Regions from separate parts of the Homo sapiens genome. Here region 2 is linked to region 1. Evidence: promoter capture Hi-C in 16 types of primary human blood cells and fetal thymus (Javierre and others, 2016). All regions are on one chromosome and are shown on one strand. The core of a region is centred on a gene start or on the middle of the fragment in contact, and the rest is flanking DNA. Distances in the headings are between cores, read along the strand shown. Region 1 holds the start of COMMD3 (COMM domain containing 3). Region 2 overlaps PIP4K2A (phosphatidylinositol-5-phosphate 4-kinase type 2 alpha).

Region 1 (4,520 bases), core at 1,314-3,813:
GGAAAAAAAACACGCAACAAGAAACGCTGTTTATTTAAATCAATGAAATTATAAATTTCATTATTGGATAAGACTTATCTATAAATACCTGTACACTTAAGGTCACCAAATATGCAGGTCTGTACATCCTATGAAGTTGATTGGTCTAAAATAACACAACAAACACGCAACAGCTTTTAACTCTAGGTTTTAAGAAGTTCCCTAAATCCCCCGCTAGAGAAGTTTCTTAAACTTTACCTTTATCTGATATTCCAAGCGCCAAGAAACATCCGTTATATGAGGGAGAGATCTGCCTATACTGAAAGATGCAATGATAACTTCGTACATAGTCTCCTCAGAAGAACTTTTCAGTTATTTATATTTACTAAGAATGGCTCTACTTTCCACCCCCAACTCCATTTTAATCCATTCTGAATTTAAACCATTGTTAAACTTTATTTTTAAATTATGAATGGTAAAGGAGCATTTCAAAATCATCTCAATAAACGATCTTTAAAAACATGAGCTTAACTTCAATTGCTTGACATGCCCTTTGGCTCCTTTTCTTTGGGTCAAGATCCCGAAGATCTTGTTTCACACCAACACTCTCCATTCATACCTGCAAGTGAAAAGTGCCTCAGCTTGACACCTTATACAGTACCTACCTTCCCAGTAGGATTTCTAGGGAATTCTTATTATTCTGGAGAGAAAAAAGAAAGCAAGAAAGAAAGAAAAAAAAACATCTTTACAAACAAAGTAAAAGAAAAATAGTACTGTTAATTAAAAATTTTAAAGTAAGTAACCTGATATTCCGTGCAAAACAGTTCTATTCGCTCTCTGTCAAATTTACAGTCTTCTAGATAAGTGCTAGAAGAAAGAAAAAAAAAGCCAAAGTTCTGTCTCCATTTTTAAAACTGAAATTGAAATCATTAAGGTAGTATTTGAAAATAAATGGATATTTAAATAAATCCTGTACCTTAGAGTTGACTTGTCAGCTCGGTGCTTTCCTGCCTCTAGTATGTAAGTTGCAGCTGCTGCATGACAATGTTTTAAAACCACTGGGTCGATATGTTTCAAGTCTGGATGATCTAAAATAAATTAACTTCCAGTGATGCCTATGATAATAAATTCTTTACAGTCATGTTCCAAAAAGGATATTTTAATTTGGGTTTAAAAACCCTTTAACAAGATTAAAAACATCAACTATAAGGACAGTCAATTATAAGTAAATGAGATGAGCAACAAGATCAAGTGAAAAACAATAAAAAGAACACAACAAGAACTCTACTATTACTAGCTTCAATTAACTTATTTTGCCTTAATATTTTTACTATTAAAAAATATTATAGCCCCCAAAGAAAATATAACAATGCAATGGTCATTCTAACACTGGAGTAAATTCAAAGGAAAAACAAGATAAATATTTTACATTGTGTCAATTTTAGAATAAACTTCCATCCTAAAAATGATGAGTTTAGGGTAACCGGCTCCATGAACAAATACATCAAGGGGGTAGAAGGTAGGGCATGAGTTCAGAATATAAGATACAAATTTCAAAATTATATTAGTACTTTCAGGGTTTGACAGTCATTTTTTTTTTGAGATTAACCCAGGTGGTGGTTACTATTTTCGTTTAAGAACTTCCACTTTCATACTTTTTGTACAAGTGTTTAGTTCATGAAACTACAGAAAAAAAACAAAAATTTGAATTGTTGGGATATTTATATTTAAGAAAATCATCTAAAAGCGATCGGTCTTAAAATATGTCTTCAATCCATACTGACACTGCACCTCCGCAGTCACTGACCGGATCGCTTAAAAGACACTCGCATCCTGGTAACTGGGGCGGAACAAAGTATTGTGCATCATAGTTTAAGGTTCTAGGCGTAGAACCTGTGTAAACATGCTGAACTAGAGCGCTGGAGTGATCATAGCAACTTGAGGTATGCTCTAAGTTGGCAAATGTCAACACTGTCTGACCTAGTAATTACTTCGGAAACAGACCCTTAAACCTTTGCTAGCCTAGCCCTGGAAGCTTGAATTGCAGGGAGCTCCCCAGATGAAGTCCAACTGTCAAAACAGCCGCAGCCTCAGACAAGGCTAAACACCTTAGATGTTTAGGCCACAAACAAGACTTGAACACCGGCTTTACAAAAGAACAAAGAGACTGGGAGGGAAACCGGGCCAGGAACGTGGAGTTGGCTCTATGCAGGTGCCAAGTGGGGCCAAAACAATGCTCAGAGTCTGCTCCGAGTCCTGGCAGAGCCACGTCCCCAACACTCCGTCCGGAGCGAAGGGCAAAGCCCGGAGACTTCCTCTTCCCGGGGCTTTCCCCTTCTCGCTCCGCCGGCTCCTCTTCTCCGAGCGCCCCTCCACCCCGGCGGATCCAGCTCCGAGCCGAGCCGAGCGGCTTACCTAACACGGCCTCGTCCGCCTGGGCGTCCAGCAGACTCTGGAATGCCGCCCGGAGGAGAAGCGTGAAGGCGTTGGAGTCGAAGGAGCGGGGATCCGCCAGCATCTGGAAGCCTTTCTGCACAGACTCCGAGAGCTCCATTGTGAGCGCGCCGTGACCTTCGACACGCACACCACGTGACACGCGCCGCGCGCTCAGCTGATGCGGCCGCGCGCGCACGCGGCTCGGGGCGGCTGGCGGCGGCGCGGGCTGCGGGGCCTCCCCGCCCGCCTCCGCGCCCGCGCGCGGGTCCCGCGCCCCCAGCCGCCGCCTACGGCCTCCCACCGTTTCCGTCCAGCTCTCGCTTGTCCAGCGCAGGCCGCGGGAGCTGCCGAGCCTTGGCGAGAAGGGCGGCCTCGGGCGTTTTGTGGACGCGCTCGGCGCTTTCTCCTTGGTTCGGCGCTTACCTCGGACGGCCACCAGCTCGGTTCCCTGAGAGACCCCGGGGAGACTGCGGACGGTGTCGGGATCCCGGCCCCCGCCTCCCGCAAACGGCGTCCTCCCCGCTCCTCGCTCTGCGCGAATCCTGCGGGAAGCTCCGATCTCAGGCAACTGGATTTTGCTTTTGTGGTTTTTTGTTTGTTTTGTTTGTTTTTTAGCTCACCAGCTTAACCTCGCAGCACTGCCCTTTTATGAGACTGTAAGACATCTAATTATGTGATTCTTGCTTATTTTTACTTTTTTTTTTTTGTCATTTCTGGAATACGGCAGTAGTGTCCTTCCTGCATGGGGGGTGTGTACACATGCACGCATACATAGAGTTCCTGTATGCACTGCACTCCAGCAATCGGATTAATAAATTATTCATGAACAGATTTGACAGGATTATTAACAATTTTATATGCCGCTGCAAATAAAGCCAACTGCCATACACATTTTGTGCTACTCACCACATCTATGGGTCCCGTTTTAGTTGCTCTATAGAATCTGCATAAATACGTTTTTATTAAACAGCTACCTTAGTAAAGTACAGTTAGGAATGGCAAGATCTTTATTAGAAGTGAGTTACTGTTTAGGATGCTCATACCTTTAAAGATTCAAATACTGTATAAAGTTTAACTTCCTCTCTATTTCTACGAAGTTGGTTTAGAGAACAAGAATGATTCTTTAAAAAACCCGTGAAGCAAAGTAGATTAGGTATTTTTAATCAAAAGCACTTGAAAAGTTAAAAAATGCAAGTTCTTGAAGGGTGGAGGGAAGGGATGCGGAACAACAAAGATGTTTTAGTCTTCAGGAGCGATTATTTGCAACATTAGACCCAAAGTGAAACATTATTTTCTTTTTCTAACTTAGATGTCTGTTTTAAAAATTTTTGATGGATACAGTTGACATTTACCTTGGCACCAATACATAAAGTGTACCTCATTTCACAACAGGATGCAAATGGAGTAAGCATCAGTAACAGATTGAGTAACTACTCAGCCCTCCTTTGAAAGCTTTAAAAGGCACGTGCAGTGGCTCCTCACTCGGTGAGAATATAGTAGCAGTGAAGGATTTAAAAGTCTCCCTAGAGTCTTTATGAAACAAGCACCTATTAATCATGTTCATCTTTTCTTCCCATCACTCATCTTCCTAATTTGTTTCTCATTAGTAGTAAAATGTCAGTTGAAAAACTTCATGATACCTGATTACATAGAGAATAGTCAGGACAGAGTTGTGTAAATGTTCAACAATATTAACAACACCCAAGCTTATTATGTTTATTACACATGTATTTTATGACCTAGTGTAACGTTGATTATTAATACTCTAATAGAATTTGAGTTGATAACTCTAATACTCAATTTAGTGTCAAAAAAGAGAGTATTAATCATGGACATAGATTTTAAAATATTATTTTAAAAGAAAAATAAACACAAGTGGTTGTCAATTTGTGGGCATGAAAGTTAGGAAATTCAGAAGGATTGTTTCCATAATAGCTGTCATATTACTTTGTTGCCCATGTATAAGTACTTTCTCTTAGAATGTTTCCTCCTCTTAGGCCTAAGTATATTCATGTGTTAGGCCTAAGTGATGGGCACATTTTAAGCTCACAAAAATTTTCACCATAATGTGTTCTAATGCTAGAAAAACGGAATTTTCCTACTAC
Region 2 (4,014 bases), core at 449-2,948, 390 kb before region 1:
ACGCAGCAGCCAGGAAGAATTCTTGGGGGGGAACACGCATAGGCTGAATTGATTACCCGCCTGGGTCACAGTGCCTAGTACTTGGGATTCACAACGGTACCGTTAACCACTGAGCTGTGCTGCCTGGGCCAAGCTCAGGAATCATTCATTTCTTTGAGTTCTTTTATTTTCTTAGTCTTAAGAGCTGTTCTTCTTGGATGGACAGAGTATTAGCTGTTAACATGGGAGAAAACTACTTGAAAACCAGTTTTTCCCTTCATAGAAAGAAAATCATTGTTAATGTTCAGAGCATGTAGGGAGAGAACCAGTACATAATTTATTTAAGAAAAATGTTGTAGGGAGTTTTAAAACAGTAACTTACCTAAAGCTAAGCCTCACAATTCTAAATCTTTATAGTTTTTCAGCTACCTGGGCACAGTGATTAAGAGCTCTGGAGTCCTTGTTCGGTTGGCTATGTGACCTTGAACAAGTTATTTTGCCTCTCAGTTCCTTGATTATAAAAGGAGGTAATAATGGTACCTACTTTGGAAGTTTGTTATATGGATTAAATCAATTCATACTTGTAAGATGCCTAAATAGTTGCTGGCACATGGTAAGTTCTTAATGTGCTAGCTGTCATTATTACTATCCTTTAAAATAGAGACAGGGTCTTGCTGTATTGGCCAGGCTGGTCTCAAACTTCTGACCTCAAGCAATCCTCTCACCTCAGCCTCCCAAAGTGCTGGAAATAGAGCCTTGAGCCACCATGCCTATCCTATTTTTTTTTTTAATATCTTAAATGCTAAGAGGTAGCAAATTATCAGATTGTATGCTAAATCAATGGTTACTTTATCCTGTTTTGTAGTAGAACATCATCGTTGTTCTTGGCATCCTTGTGTATTTTTGAGTTATGAATTATCATTTTAGAATTACCCTTGTGCCCTTGCTTTGCTTTCTGTATCTATTTTGTTATGTTCTTTCTTGTATTTTTCACACTTCCACTAGCGATTAGGTTCTTTGAAGTGTCAGAAATCTAATTCACATCCATTAGTTGCAAGTTATGTCAGCTATTGACTTGATATTTCACCTTGTCTTTAAATATGGAGACACTGCAAGATGCTTCAGATGCAAAATGAATATATTGTGGACCTTGCTCTCAAATTGTGCATAACTACAGGGGACACAGACGTAAAATAAATATATGTGTAAATAACTACAGTGTCCAGAATGCTAGGGGTGGAAGGTATTAAATAGACCGTGCAGAACATTGAGCAAAGGCATGACGTCGGTGAAGGGCTTAGACATGAGGCAGTTTGGGAGAAGAGCATTTCAGGCGGAGGGGTCAGCTGGTGCAAAGGCCGTGAGGCTGGTGTTTGCTTGGCTTGTTATGGCAACTGCAGGAAAGCTGGCATGGCTGGAGCACAGCAAGAGGGGGATATAGTGGTAGGAGATCTGCCAAGGTGCTAACCAGGACTGGATCATGATTACTTCTGCCTGGGGGACTTGGAGAATCCTTGAGAGGAGGTAACAATGAGGAGGACCTTGAGGATTAGATAGAATCTCCCAGCTGCAGAAGATGGGTGATATGGTTTGGCTGTGTCCCCACTCAAATCTAATCTTGAATTGTACCCATAATCCCCAGGTGTTGTGGGTGGATCAGCTGGAGATAATTGAATCATGGGGGCAGTTTTCCCCATCGTATTCTCGTGATAGTTAGTTCTCACGAGACCTAATGATTTTAAATAAGGAGCTTCTCCTTTTGCTGGGTGTTCATTCTTCTGCTTGCTGCTGCCATGTGAAGAAGGATGTGTTTGCTTCCCCTTCTGCCATGATCGTAAGTTTCTTGAGGTCTCCCCAGCCCTGCAGAACTGAGTCAGTTAAACCTCTTTCCTTTATAAATTACCCAGTCTTGGGTATTTCTTCACAGCAGCGTGAGAACAGACTAATACAATGGGGAAAGGCATATGCAGCTGAGGGTCCGACAGCGGGCAAAACCAAGCAGAGCGGAGAATGTGAGTAGTTGGCTTTGGGTGTGGCCACAGTGGCAGAACCCAGTAACATGTTAGAAATGCAGAGCTTGGGCCTCTGCAGACCTGCTGGAGCAGAATGTACATTTTAACAAGACATGTTGATCGTCAGCATATTTAAGTCTGAGAAACACCCATCAGGGTAAATCTTTGGTTTCAAGCCCTGAGATTCCTTAGATGTGCCTCAGGGGCTGGTGGGAGGGGGCCAAGCTGGTGGGGGAATTTAGGCCTACCTCAGTTTCCTCCAGAACAGCCTTGTTTTTGTCCTCATTGTCATCTCTCTGTCCTTTTTTTTTTTTTTTTTTTTTTTTTTTTTTTTTTTTAACTGGGGTACTGAATATAATACGTAAAGGGGGTAAAAAAGATCCTGCAGCCAAGAAAATTGAAAACCACAGAGGAACATAAAGGGAGTGTCAGGAGATGGTTGAAAGAGTAGTTTGAGGCCACCTTTGAAGGGCCAAGTGGTTGATGTTTGCCAGAGAAAAGCCAGCAGTTCTGACCAGGGTTACTTTAAAATTTGCCACAAATCTCAAATGACACTCGACCCGGAAGTGTTACTGCCTCCTTTAATATGTTCTCCACTCTCTGAAGTCATTTCTTCCTTTTCACTTCTCCTTGAACTTCACCTAGTGTCCTGTCCCCCACTTCCCCCACCCCGTCCTTCCCTCAGCATATAACCTCATTTAGAAAGCATTGAACAAATAGAAGCCGTCAGCTTCCACTCTTCCCACCATCCCATCTAAATTTTGGACAGCTGGGTCCGTCAGTCTACAGACATGCTGGAGGGGCTGCCCTGCCTGGTTTTGTAGCTGCTAGCTATATATGGCAATTTAAATTTCAGCTAATAAAACTTAAAATTCAGTTTCTCATATCAAGTGCTCACTAGCCACATGTGGTTAGTGGTTACTGGATTGAACAGTGCAGATATAGACGATTCCCACCATTGCAGTGTCTTCCACTGACATGGCTCACCATTCCGGGGCCGCCCATCTTGAAAGCAAAATAAACTACAGTAACAGCAGAAGCTCTCCTTCACCCTTAGTCTCTCATTTTAGTGTCTTCTCGTGTTTTCTGTTCCTTTTTTTTTTTTTTTTTTTTCAGATGAGGTCTTGCTTTTTGGCCTGGGCTGGAGTGCATGGTGCAATCATGGCTCACTGCTGCCTCAAACTCCTGGTCTCAAGCAGTCCTGCTTCAGACTCCCTAAGTGCTGGGATTATACATGTGAGCTACCACACCTGCCCTGTTCCTTTTCATAGCAGGAGTGAAAAGCCTTGTCTAAAGCTGAGGTCTCCTATTTCTATAGAGACACCGTACCTGGCAACCGTCAACTTACCTGCGATGATCTCCTTAACTTACCCCAATCTAGCTTTCACCTCCAGCACACCTAGGAAACTGCTCAAGTCAGCATCACTGGCAGTGCTAACATTTTCAAATGCAGGGGGCTCCTTTTTTTTTGTCTCTTGTTTTCCTTCTGCTTCACTAGCCACTCCTTAGGTGCAGGCTCCTCTTTTGCTCAGTCTGGAAATGTTGGAATGCCCCAGGCCTGTGTCCAGGATCATCTTCTACAATTACATTTACTTTACCTACATGATTTCATTTAGTCTCATGGCTTTTTATACCATTTTACAGTCATGATTGAGAAATTTTTAACTTCAGCTCTAACTTTCCTCTTGGGCTCTATATGCAGTTTCTTACCAGGTATCTTCACATGAATAACTAATAGACATCTCAGATGTCCCAAGCAGGCCTCTTGATTTCCTCCCTGCACTCTGCCCCGTCCCCTGTCATAACTTAAACTGGCCTCTTCCCGTCTCAGAAAATGGACCACCATAGACCCAGGTGCTCAAGCTTAAACGTAGGGAGCAACCTTGATTATGCTTTTTTCTCCCCACTCCTTCTCCACATCCAATTTTTGAGTCCCGAATCCACATGCTTTCTATTTGAATCTTCTTTCTCAGGAACACTGTGGTAGCCTCCTGTTTGGTCTCCCGGCATTCAGTTTTGCCCT

What was found. Contacts are between HindIII fragments. The CHiCAGO score rates a contact against its expected background, and 5 or more counts as called.
Region 2: a contact is called between a fragment that was not itself captured here and the fragment with the promoter of COMMD3 in region 1, in 1 of 17 cell types (neutrophils). The highest score is 5.3, in neutrophils.

The regions. Positions count from the first base shown.
Region 1 is chr10:22,314,431-22,318,950 of GRCh38, reverse strand. It overlaps COMMD3 (COMM domain containing 3), which reads right to left and starts at 2,563. Exons shown (of 8, transcript NM_012071.4): 1 at 2,395-2,563; 2 at 956-1,067; 3 at 783-846; 4 at 645-679; 5 at 238-298; 6 at 89-145. The coding sequence starts at 2,533. It overlaps COMMD3-BMI1 (COMMD3-BMI1 readthrough), which reads right to left and starts at 2,563. Exons shown (of 14, transcript NM_001204062.2): 1 at 2,395-2,563; 2 at 956-1,067; 3 at 783-846; 4 at 645-679. The coding sequence starts at 2,533. RefSeq lists an enhancer at 2,016-2,315 and a silencer at 2,586-2,705. The HindIII fragment of the contact is 1,853 bases long and covers 2,017-3,869 here.
Region 2 is chr10:22,703,742-22,707,755 of GRCh38, reverse strand. The region is part of intron 1 of PIP4K2A (phosphatidylinositol-5-phosphate 4-kinase type 2 alpha); the gene reads left to right. Among named protein-coding and RNA genes, the nearest start is that of PIP4K2A, 8.8 kb to the left of the region's middle. RefSeq lists an enhancer at 3,321-3,380. The HindIII fragment of the contact is 4,316 bases long and covers 1-3,856 here.